Linked DNA regions of Homo sapiens: all the other regions are linked to region 2. Evidence: promoter capture Hi-C in 16 types of primary human blood cells and fetal thymus (Javierre and others, 2016). All regions are on one chromosome and are shown on one strand. The core of a region is centred on a gene start or on the middle of the fragment in contact, and the rest is flanking DNA. Distances in the headings are between cores, read along the strand shown.

Region 1 (3,141 bases), core at 252-2,751, 2.4 Mb after region 2:
AGCATCTGTCCTTCAGGACTCTGCTCTGTTCTAATGGGCTGGTGCCTGCTCTCTCTCTGTTGTACTAATTCAGTGAGACTGTGCTTCCTTCTCTCTGGGATCTGGTTCTTCACGACCTCACTGCTTTGGTAGCTCTCTGAAAGCACAAACATATTCATATATTTTGTGCAGCTTTTCTGTTTTCTCTTATTGAGAGAGTTGGTAAGTCATAAGCCAGTCTATCACCACTGGCAGCTGGAACCATCAGTGTATTATGTGAAACAGATGTGTCTCTACGGGTTAAGAGTTTGATTACTTGCAGCCAAATGAATTCTTAACTGTTAAGCTTGTTACGGCCAGGACTGTGCTATGTGTGGATCTATGCTATGTTGATGTGTGTAACGACTTGGGTGTATGATCTAAAGGAAAGAGACTGAGCAAGCTGCCTTGATCAGAGAAGAGAACTATAACAAGCAGACTCCAGAACAAAGTAAATACTTAGGGTAATCAGAGAAGGATAATTTGGATTTCTTCATTGAGAAACAAAAGGCTAAGAGATCCATAAAGTATACTAACAGGATAAAACGGTTATTAGAGAGAAAGGTTTGGAAACTGCTGAATGGTAATATTTCTAAGTTAACAAATTGCTGAAACTCAAGAGGAAGTCATTTTGTTTTAGCTTTGCCATTAAGCACAAAGCCGAAACTTTTGGCACATGATTTATAACACTCAGAGCTCTGCAGATTTTATTAAAAGTATTAAATAAAGCCTGAAACCTCCCAAGGTGTCCCACAGCCTGCAATATGGAGAGATAAAGGGCTTTTTCCATGGTCAGACATTAGGCATGGGTATAAGTGATTAAAGGAGACACACAGTTAAAATGCTTATGAACGCACACATACACAGGTATTTGGTAGGAATAGCCTGTCTAAATCTCATGCCTTCTGTGACACATTGAATTTTCCAAATATGGCCCTATCAGCATGTTCCATCACCCATGTTCCTTTTCTTGGCACTGGGTGGGCCTGTGACTAGGTGAACAGGATACTGTGTGACTTCTAAGAATAAAAGTCCTCGGAGCCATACAACTTTCAGTAGCCCTCTTGGAACTCTTGACCTTGGATCCTGCCACCCACCACATGGAAAGGCCACTATAGGCTGTTCTGGCCACAGGCCTTATCTGAGGTCCTAGATGACAGCTCACATTGGCCACCCATTATCTATACCATCTGCAGCAGCCATATGAGTGAGACTGCAGAAGATCCCTGCCCCAGTCTTTGAGCATGCCACATGGAGCTGAGATGAGCTGTCCCCATTGACAAAACTGCTTTTTCAGATTCATAGGGAAAATACATGCTTTAAACCACTAAGTTTAGGAGTGGTTTTTCATGCAGCAACAGCTAACTCCTCTTCCCTATATCTGAGTGTAATGCTTATGAGAGTTGCTGAGATATCGCTTAAGACAGAGAAAGAACCTGGAGAGACATAGAGTGTACCAGGAACATTAGCTGATCCAACAAACATTAAAGGCAAAGCTCTGGCTTAATAAAGCCTCTATCTAGATCTGGCATGAGGTCTTTCCTTGTGGAGATGATTGGCAGAAATATAAAGGCAGTTCTGGCCCCAACCTTTAAATGATACTGGTTTTAAGGTCCCTGGGCATGGCTTTTTTGAGAAAAAAATTAAAGATAAAAGTAAAAGGGTATTTGACAGAGACCACCAATTGAATCCCCAAATTTGTTTTCTCCTTCATCCTTTAGTAGTAGTAAGTTCCTGAATTTTAGCAATGCACAGACCACTCAGAATCAAGATTCCTATTTCAGGTGCTTGTGATGCTTCATGCTGCTGCCCTGCAGTCCCTGTAACCTCATGGCAGCCCTGGACGACAAGTTCAGGCATCAGGCACACATGGAGTCTTTCTATTCTTTCTTCTCTGAAGCTGTGGAAGGACAAGTGTGGGCATAACCTGGACCTGTAGGGACAACTGCCCTCGGCCAATGGGGGATGGTAGTGGGTGGATAGAGGCCGCCACCTCCTCTTCCTTAGATGGACTAATTCTGAGCTGTGTTCTACAAGGTTCCCCAAAGGCCTCCTGTGGGATTGAACCCCAGATGCCTAGAGCAGCAAGAAGCTCAATGACACTCCCTCTACTGGCTTTTCTTCTTCCCTTGACTCACTTTTATTACTCAGTCACTTCTATATTTTGGAAGTATCTCCTAAGTAAAGTACTTGTGCCCAAGTCCTTATTTCAGGGTCTGCTTTTGAAGAAACCCCAACTAACACAATTATGTTTCCCAGCTTTTCTTGCAGCCAGATGTCACTATGAAACTCTGATCTGCTTCCCTGTGCTGTTACTCTATAAATTGTGGTGACTCTTTTGTTTCCCTTAGTCAACAGTGCTAGAATATGGCCTGTTGTCTCAACTTTCTTAGTATAGCAGTTAAGATTTTGAACTTTAGAGCCCTAGAGCCAGATTTCTAGGGTTCAAATCCTGGCTCAGCCACTTGTCAGCTGTACGATCTTTGGATGGCAGCTTAATCTTGCTGTGTCTCAGTTTCTTCATTTGTAAAGAAAATATATATAATGATGATAATAGTAATCTTGTTGTGGGTGCTAAGTAAGGAAACATATGTAAAGTAATGAGAAAAATGCCTGATAGATTGTAATAGTCTGTTTTGTGTTACTGTAATAGAATACTTAAGCTTGGGCAATTTATAAAGATAAGAGATTTATTCAGTTTATGATTCTGTAGGCTGGGAAGTTCAAGATTGGGCAGCTGCATCTGCTGAGGGCCTCAGGCTTCCACTCATGGAAGAAAGTGGAAGGGGAGCGGGCATGTGCAAAGAGATCACACAGTGAGAGAGGAAGCAAGAGAGACAAACCAAGGAAGCCAGAACCTTTTTAACAACCTGGTCTTTCAGGAACTAATTCATTCTTATGAGAACCAGAACTCACTTACCCCTGCAGGAGGGCATTACTCTATTCATGAGGGATCCACCTCCTACTAGGTCCCACCTTCCAACACTGCCACATTGGGATCAAATTTCAACATGAGTTTTGTTGGGGACAAGCCACATCCAAACCATAGCATAATGTTAAATCATAAAAATACTGTTATATATATTCTTAATAAAATATCTAACCACTTCTTGATAAATAAAA
Region 2 (3,060 bases), core at 161-2,660:
TCTGGATAATAAAATAACATAGATGAGCATTTTAGACAGATTTATTAATAGACAGATTTATTAAGAATGTTTAAAATAGCCTTATTATTAAAACCATTAGAGATTTTGGACTAAAAATTGAAAAAAAAATCAATTTTTTTTCTTTTAAATTCTAAATAAAATAATAAAAACAAACCCCCCAGATGTTGAGAAGACATGGATGGGCCTGTTGCACTCTTTACCTATATGCAACCATTTTGTTTCAGACCTAATTCAGTGAACAAAATTTTTTGAGAAGATACATTTAACTACTTTTTCAAGCTTTGTAGTATAAATGCATTTCTTCCAATATAAGATTTTCCTATTATAAGTTGCAAAGAATGGATCCTCTGCAAAACCCACTTGATAAGGGCTCTACTCATTTATTTTTCTTTCCTGCTACCCCAAACTCACTGCATACATCAGGCATAGCTTCCAGGGTGAGCTTTGTTAGTTTTTCTGAGTAGACTTAGCCATTTACTATGCTAGTCACATACTTCACTTGCCTAAGCAATGGATTTTGGTGTTCTATTGAAGAGGGAATATGGTTTGGAAGAGTGTCTCCCCCTCCTCTGAGTTCAATTTACTAGTTGAGATTTGCAAGCCTGAAATGCTTGAAGCAGCTCAGGCACGATAGCAGTGCAAGCTTTAAAATCTAGGTGTAGCTGTTAATCCTTTACAGAGGCACATAAGTCTCCAGGAGTAGCTCGGCTAGCTGTGAGCAAGATGTATGCTTTTCATGTACTGCGTACTCATGGGCTGAGGGATTATTGATTTTCTTTCACAGTTGTAAAAACAGCAATTGGTGATCATCCCACACGTACAGTACACACCAAGTTGCTTTCCTATCTGTGAAGAATCTCCTTGTATTCTTTAATATTTAACATTGAACTTTCCAACTTGCTGTTTTCCATAAGGCTCTTTTCACATAGCAATTACTCAAGACAGAAAATAGCCACTTACTATCTTTTATAAATGAAAGAAGGTTCTAAGAAACTTCTTACATTCAGCCATGATAGTGAAATTTTTCATTGCTGGCTTGCACGCACATATATTGCTTGTTGTGGTGACAGAGCAAACGTTCCTATTTGGATTTCTCATAGTATCAAGTCGTTTCTTTCTAGAGAGTAAAACCAAGCAAACTTTCTGGGACAATCATAAGAAAAAACATGGAAAACACTTACCAGGAAGACGAGAAAAAGCAATCCTATATACACTGCCGCTATAGCTGTAATTCCATTGACAGTGAATTGGAGTAATAGCCCTCCCCCGTCTCCCAAGCTCTGCGTCCAGTCCACACAAAGCCCACGGCAGCTGCAGGCTGAGCTTGTCCTGCTTCAGATCACTCCTACACTGAGGAGTGAGCGAGGGAGAGCATTCCAGTTTACTGCACACAGCCCACCTCCAAGTCTGAAGTTTAAAGCTTCACCTCGCAGTGGCTGAAGAAGGGGGTGATGTCATAGATGGGCAGGACTTAGCCAAGATCTTGTTCAGTGAGGTAACTGGATAATCAGACAGATGAGCTTTGCAAACGCTAGAGGGGGCGAGAGCAGCCAAAATGAAGCATCAGCCTGCCAAAGCTAGGATGCCATTTGGTTTGTAGGCAGCCCTTTGGAATCTCAACATTTTCTAAAGTTTACTACAAGGCAGTGGTAGCATACTTATGTATTTTTTTTAAAAAGCATGTTAGAAAGATATTTTTAAGATCACAATAGAAAAAGACAGGCTTTGTCTTATTTTTAAACCATCTGTATTGAAAAGAAGTTAACCAAAATCAAATTAGTTTTATTATTCACTAGCTAAAATAATGTTATAATTGTGGAAGATGTATGCCAGTAATCCCAACTGTGAATGTTTATTCAACATATGAATAAACAGCAGATTCAAATATATACATCAGGGCTGGGTGTGGTGGCTCACGCCTCTAATTCCGGCACTTTGGGAGGCCGAGGTGGGAGGATCACCTGAGGTCAGGAGTTCGAGACCAGCCTGACCAACATGTAGAAAAAATTAGCTGGGCGCCCGTAATCCCAGCTGTTTGGGAGGCTGAGGCAGGAGAATCACTTGAACCCGGGAGGCAGAGGTTGCAGTGAGCCAAGATTGCACCATTGCACTCCAGCCTGGGCAACAAGAACGAAACTCCATCTCCAATATATGTATATATATACACGTGTCACTGATTCATTTAGTTATGGGAAGGGCAATAGGAATGCCAAAAGATTTTTTTAAATGGTATTAAATGGTCTGTTCTTTTGGAGGCGAAGAAGTTACTGTTCTCTATGTTTTAGAAAATGAAAGTATGTTTTATGTACTTCTGCTACGTGTTTATATTATTTAAAATGGATTATTTATATTTAACGATCCCCCAATAAAATGTTTTTAAAAAATTTAATAGAATATTTTCCTTTCTAAATGTTTTTGCTGATCTGAGCATGGGTTTAGATATAAACATCTTAAGAAAAAAATCTTTCAGGGTGGTTTGCCTGGATTGAAATTATTTTAGTTTAATTTAGGTACATGAATAAACACTGGACAATTGTAAGACGTGGAGATTATAAATTTCTATGCCTAATTAACAGAATTATACTTGTATTTTTAATTATGATTTTTGTAGACTGGTTTCTGCTATTTGGTCAACAATTGCTTTGTGCCCGTAAGTTTTCCATCAAATAAGTGTATTTCACTTGTTCATGTTGGTGGTAAGAACTTAGCTTTTATATTTACCTGGAGGACCGTTGTCTTAAACTAATATCTTTATTTGCTCTATTCTTAGAGGTGCATGACCTTCTCCTTTGTCCTTTCTCAATTTTTCCCTGCATGTTTATTTCTGAAGAAGGCCAGCTAATAGTCTTTCCCAGGACTATTTGATTGTGGTCTCTTCATTAGCTTCATTTAGTTTATCTATTTATATATTTGTTTGATAACAGTTTGACCTGAGTTCCCTTCCAAGAATGGGTGATATCAAAGTAGGTGAACCCTTGATAAGAAATGTATTGACCCTATTGTTCTATGATTGCACTTTTGTGGGCCTCAGAGGACAGA
Region 3 (3,324 bases), core at 176-2,675, 2.2 Mb after region 2:
TCCATAAATCTCAGAAAAACCCAACCTGATTCCCTTGAGCAAGCAGCGTTTTCAGTCTGGCTATTTCAGCTCGCAGCTCACGGATAAGTTTGACGTTGGCATCCTCATTAATGGTAGGCTTGTTGATGATGTTTTTGGCTCTATTTGCATAGCGAAGAGTACTTAGGGTTTCTCCATAATTGACATCAGCAGGTGAAATGGCTGTGAAGAATGTATTCAAAAAATAATTTATCCAGCACTCCATGTTCCATTTAACACAAAGTTGGTTTGTAATTTAAAAGTCAGATTAACCCCAGGTCATTGGAGAGACTAAATATTCATTGCCACAGTAATGAATATGAAAAATTATCTAACATTTCTAGGAAAGAGTGTTCACAATACAAAATTAAGTGTCATTTTGCTCTTCTCAAATCTAGAATCAACCACCTAACCAAGTCTAAAATGAGATATGAGACATTCCCCTATAGTTAGGTAGTTTTCCCTGCTGAAAACGTAAGAAGAAGGTTTAAAGACTATTTGTCATCTCAACATTAAGTAGGAATTCAAATACTTTTAAAAGTTCTGGCAAAGTCTACTGTCTGGAAAAAAAAACAGAATATGATAAGTTTTGAAAAGGGTCACAAATCTATCCATTCTCTTCTTAAAGCTTGGTTAATCTTACCCACCTCCACCACTACCACTCAACTTTAAGGATTAGGTGACTATACAAATGCATGTGGGTGTACAAACCAGGGTAAATCCCGTGGCTCCATAGTTAGCACATGGCATGAAGCATGGGAAGGGCATGAAGAGAGGGGAAGGGAAGAGGAAAGAGAGGAAGAGGGAGGGGAAAGTAGAGTCAGAAGGGAAACAAGTCCTGACTTCTCCCAAACAATTATCTCCCCTTTCTACGTTTTTTTCTCTATTCTGCTTCTTTCAATTATTGGCTGAAATACTGACATAAAGTATACTGCTGTTACCATTATTTGTTTTATGCATTGGGTTTTTTTTTCCCCTCCCAATTCTTACTTTTAAATTCCGCATTTACTGCCTTAAATAAAAAAACAAAGTTGGGTTATTTTGACCTTGTGTTCCTATGATTTTTCTCCTATGAGGTAAATTTCTACCTTGCACTTTAAGCAAAGAAAAGCTGAAAAGTCTTCGTGCATGTTATCACAGCTTCCAAAATATGGCAAGGTGGTATAACAGTTAATGATGATACTATAGACTGGATCATAGCAGGATCATAGGAGGTGATTTTCCTCAAGATAGAAAAACCATTACTTTTTTAAGATGTAAAAGGTGCTATTTCCTAATAAGACACTTTAAACTTAAATATTTACAGTTAATTCACAGAAAATATTGTATGCTCAGAAAAGTAACTTAAAACTCTTACTGGCAATCATGATAGTTTTAGAGTTTCCTCCAAGGCTATCTTTTAACAACCAAGTCAACACAGAATCCCTGTAAGGCACGAAAACTTGCTTCTTCTTTGCAAGAGTATTTGCAGCATCCTGAGATAAATCAGCTATGAAAAGGAAGAAACAAAGGGGAGAAAGGACAATTAGTAAAATTTTTTTTCCTCTACTTTTGCTTCATAAAACCTTGAAGAAATTACCTCAGTTTGCAACCCAAATATTACACATGAGGAAAAAGAGGAGGAAACAGAGGAGGCAGGAGCCAGGCGTAAGCATACCTAAGGCAGAAATGACGTTCCCCAGAGTCACGAGGGACTTGTTAATATTTCCCCCTTCCTTTAGCCTAACCCCGGTGGCTCCGGTGGCATCTGCACGCTCACTTCCGGCAAGATCAACCAAGTGGATCTTACTGACGGTTTCACATGGCATTTCAGAATCAAATTTAGCCTGTGGTAAAATAAAAAAGTAAAATTGAAGAGGTGCAAAGGGCCCTGATGTTGTTGATGATATGAATTCTAACTATTTTCTGCTCCTCACTGAGATCTCTCAGGGTAGATATTTTTCAATTTTATTGTTTTACTGGCCTTCCTACTGATTACAGAAACTTCTCAAATTTAATCCAATGCAAAAGAAGTTACTGTATATGATTCTTAAACTTTCTAAAGAAGCATTTCATTCTCAACCAAGCCCTGCTGAATCAGGCTGTGGCAGAACAGAAAACTAGGCACTGAGTGGCACTCAGCAGAGAAATGTAAGTAAGCAAATAATAATTTTTATTCTCATCTAGAATCCCAGCCTTCCAAGAACAAAAGCTTTCCAAAATATGATCAATATAGACAAGTACGGAAAAGAGCATTCAACCATTATCGGATGTTAAAACATCTTGTTGCACAAATTATTTCTTTTAATGTAAAATCTTAAATACTATATTCCTCGCTTCTGAATTCTACCAAAATTTTATATTCACAAATACTTCTGATCTATGTGTTACATTTTGAACCAAAATGCGCCCCCCGCCAGATTACTATATTTTTATAGAAATTTAAACCTCTTAGAAATGAGAGATGGTGGCCAGACCCAGCAGCTTATGCCTGTGATCCCAGCACTTTGGGAGGCCAAGGTGGGAGGATCGCTTGAGCCCAGGAGTTCAAGACCAGCCTGGGCATCATAGTGAGACACCATCTCTAGAAAAAACTTAAAAAAAAAAAAATTAGCTGGGCGTGGTGTTGTGCACTGCAGTCCCAGCTCCCTGGAAGGCTGAGGTGGGAGATCACTTGAGCCCAGAGGTTGAGACTGCAGTGAGCCGTGATCACACCACTGCACTCCAGCCTGGGCAACAGAGTGAAATCATGTCTCAAAAAAAAAAAAAAAATTAGAGATGGTAATATGCTAATCAAGCACTAACCAGAAAGCAGGAGAAAAACCAATCAACTTGAGTAAATCTAAAGGAAAGGTCTAACAGAAGATTAAGATGTGGAGAATTTAATGCAAGTTGTTCTGACTGGCCTTAGAAAACTCATTTTTGTGCTCTTTGATCTCCCTCATTAATAAAATGCTGCCTCTTTGTATCTGATGTGTCCAACTGTTAACCCAGATAAGGACATCCCCAAGCTCCTAGCATATACTTAGACCCTGACAGGACCCTACATTTTTGCATTCATCTATTCTACTGGCCTCAGTGTTCAAATATTTACCCTCAATAATTTCCACAGATGTTCAAGATGCTCTCCACCTCTTGATCATAATGAATTCTTACATTAGTACTTATAAATATTCGCTGCCCTTTAATATCATTCTAATAATCATCATCAACACGGCAAGATGAGTGCCATGGAGCGGTAATGAACTGCACTGAGTTACTCACCTTGGCTTCCAGCTGGTCTGACTCGCAATCCATTATATCCCACAGAGTTTGCAACAATGAAAA
Region 4 (2,973 bases), core at 351-2,850, 2.1 Mb after region 2:
TAGACAGAAGAAATCCTCAAGAGTTCACCTAGATCAGCCTACCCACTTGTGATTGAAAAAACTGAGACCAAGAGAGAGAATATAACTTAGTCAAAGTCACACAACTAGTAAGTGATAGGTCCAAGGGCAAAATCCAGGTCACCTCAGTAAACAAGACTTAAATAATGATAAAATACTCAAGATATGTCAAAAGAATAAATTAAGTGAAAACTCAGAATGAGTAGGAACTCAAAAAAGGACAAGGCTTTTGTGTATTTCATTCAAATGAGATAAGCAGTGAAGAGGTGACACAATGCACAGAACAACCGCAGAGAGGAGGAAAGAGCTAGGAAGCTGGCAATGTCTACACATCTTAATCTGGGTGTGGGTTAGATGGGGGTACACAGAAGTAAAAATTCATGAGCTGCATATACCATCTCTTCACACTTTGTGTATGTTAAATCTCAATCAAAAACCAATTCAAATAGTTTTTTTTTAATTCTGTGAACAAATAACTGCATTTAACAAAATGAATCTATTCAGTTAAAATTTCTTTTCAAATGGCATCACCCAGTGTCTCCAAATGCTTGTATGAGTGTACAACTTGGGGGCTGCAAAACATTCCAAGTTATATGAACCATTTGATTCTATGAACCTACAACCATGCAATAAACATGGAGAGATGTGTTTGAAGGGATGATCTTCCACATGCTTTAGGGCTGTGCTTTCCAACTCTTCTGAGGCTCAGGACACTTTCGTCAAAAATAGAGATTTGGGGGTATCACTCCTATTCATTCTCCTTTCACGTGTCTGCGGTAGGCTGAGAAAACTGTCTTTTTAAAAAGATCCCCAGTGATTCTGAGTGGAAACCACTTCTGTATGGAAGTGGTTTCAAGACAGGTTCTCACTCTGTCGCCCTGGCTGGAGTACAGTGAGCAATCACAGCTCGCTGCAGTCTCAACCTTCCAGGCTCAAGCAGTCCTCCTGCCTCAGCCTCCCAAGTAGCTGGGACTACAGGCGTATGCCACCTGTCTGGTTAATTTTTTTTCTGTAGAGACAGGGTCTCTCTATGTTGCCCAGGCTGGTCTCAAACTCCTGGCCTCAAGCAATCCTCCTACCTCAGCCTCCCAAAGTGCTGGGATTAAAGGCGTGAGCTACCACACCTGTCCAAAAGTCAACTTCTGAGGTGGAGAATAACTGCTATATGTGGTTTTGGATGAGAAATAGGACTTAGCAACCTAAAGAAGTGTCACGTCAAATTCTGTTGCTTGACTTCCATCAAATCTGCTGGGAATGCCAGCACACTTTCACTCTAATTACGAGAACAAAAAAGGCTTAAATGTATAATGTACTGGACCTAGAGGAAAATGACCATCTTTTGTGATGTCTGTGTGGCTAAATTCTTTCAGGGAGAATTCAGAGCTATTTGGAACCAACTCCTCTCATCCATTTGACAAAGACAACTTAGGAAGGCTGGTTTTAGCTGGAAAAGTTTCACATCAAAGAGGACAGGTTCAGAGTAAACAAAATTAATAAGGAAAAAATGGATGACATTACTGTAATGCTGACTGTGTGCTAGACACCACTGTCAGCACTTTGCCTGTCCTCGTTTCTCACTTTGTATGATAGGTACGATTACTGTCTGCATCTTACAGTGAGGTTCTGGGGAACAGAAAGTGACCTGTGACCATGGTCAGAAAGATGACAATGCTGGATCCAGAATAACAAAGGTGACATGTAAAGTACGAGATAAGATGTGAGAAGTGTATAGTCATCTTCCTCCTTGGAAATATCAGAATATCCTGGTAATAGACATCCACATGCAACTTAGGCCCTTATTCTTTTGTCAGTAGATGCCCATTTGCTAATTATGCTGATTAGCATAATCTGATCCTTACAGATACAAACTTCTTAATACCACCACTTCTGCTTGGAGCTCTGCTGCCTGGAGTTAAGAGAAACTGCTGTCATCCTTAAATAATGCAAAGGCAAAATCAACCAGGATGCTAAGGAAAAAGTAATCTCTGAAAACTGGCTGTTGTGATACAAACGGAGGGCAAGTCCAACCTGCCGCTCCTAGTAACTGTTGCTAGGTAGGCTGGGATGGAAAACAGCAAGCTAAAGAGGTCAATGAGAAATTGAGCCAAATTCAAAACTACCTATGAAAGACTGAAGAGAACACACCCGCATTTGGAGCTCATTTTAAATCATGTAATCAATCTAAAGGAGAAAAGGAAAATGACTTTAAATACACAGAATTTGTTGTGTGCCATTCTTCAGTTCTAACACCAGAAAACAGAGGGCTCTCCTGTAATGGAATGTTCACACCACAGTACAGATATTCAGCTGCTTTTATGTAATTTTTCACCTCAATACAGGATTCCTGAGTCATAAATATTTTCTCTTAAGAAGTAAAAGAATGCCTCAACTCATGTGCATCTCCTGTTTGCCTTGAATATATATGACACTATAGTAAGTGTCCAAGTTCTATATTTATGGTAGGAAATGTGAATGGTGTCACCCTGATTCACCTGCTCCCCCAACCCCAGCTCACAGAAGCTGTGGTGAATGAGCTTGACCTCACTCCAAAGGGCTCCAGAGGTGGCCCTTGATTCATCTCAATCAATCAGGGTAACCTATCCCTTATCACACTGATTGGTTTAGATAACCTAGACCTAAGCCAGTCAGCATACAGTGTCTCCTTGGCCCCAGAGACTGGTTCAGAAATGCACCATTCAATGGAGAGCTCAAAAAGTTGTTGGGAACTCAGGAATGCACACTCCTTGAATTTGGGTAATGCGTTAGGGAGATATGAATCTGTAATTGCTGCTCTCCCTTTGCATTCTGAGGGTAGACAGCCTGAGGAGTAAGTCAGTACACCAAAAAGTAGAACCAAGGAGAATCCTGGTGAGCCAGAGCCCTGATCAAACCATGCCTAAACTCCATCCCACCATCACTCTTCTGTGAGCTAATAAACCCCTGTACCATATAATC

What was found. The method cuts DNA at HindIII sites, captures the fragments that hold promoters and counts their contacts. A CHiCAGO score of 5 or more calls a contact.
Region 1: a contact is called between a fragment that was not itself captured here and the fragment with the promoter of FLRT3 in region 2, in 2 of 17 cell types (naive B cells and total B cells). The highest score is 9.8, in naive B cells.
Region 3: a contact is called between a fragment that was not itself captured here and the fragment with the promoter of FLRT3 in region 2, in 1 of 17 cell types (total B cells). The highest score is 5.3, in total B cells.
Region 4: a contact is called between a fragment that was not itself captured here and the fragment with the promoter of FLRT3 in region 2, in 1 of 17 cell types (naive B cells). The highest score is 12.2, in naive B cells.

The regions. Positions count from the first base shown.
Region 1 is chr20:16,766,506-16,769,646 of GRCh38, forward strand. No RefSeq gene overlaps it. Among named protein-coding and RNA genes, the nearest start is that of OTOR, 20 kb to the left of the region's middle. The HindIII fragment of the contact is 2,356 bases long and covers 324-2,679 here.
Region 2 is chr20:14,336,202-14,339,261 of GRCh38, forward strand. It overlaps FLRT3 (fibronectin leucine rich transmembrane protein 3), which reads right to left and starts at 1,411. Exons shown (of 3, transcript NM_198391.3): 1 at 1,203-1,411. All of the region lies in intron 3 of MACROD2 (mono-ADP ribosylhydrolase 2), which reads left to right. The HindIII fragment of the contact is 777 bases long and covers 663-1,439 here.
Region 3 is chr20:16,504,347-16,507,670 of GRCh38, forward strand. KIF16B (kinesin family member 16B) reads right to left here. Exons shown (of 26, transcript NM_024704.5): 8 at 1,676-1,844; 9 at 1,376-1,507; 10 at 26-201. Among named protein-coding and RNA genes, the nearest start is that of KIF16B, 67 kb to the right of the region's middle. The HindIII fragment of the contact is 1,563 bases long and covers 645-2,207 here.
Region 4 is chr20:16,480,343-16,483,315 of GRCh38, forward strand. All of the region lies in intron 12 of KIF16B (kinesin family member 16B), which reads right to left. Among named protein-coding and RNA genes, the nearest start is that of KIF16B, 92 kb to the right of the region's middle. The HindIII fragment of the contact is 3,982 bases long and covers 1-2,973 here.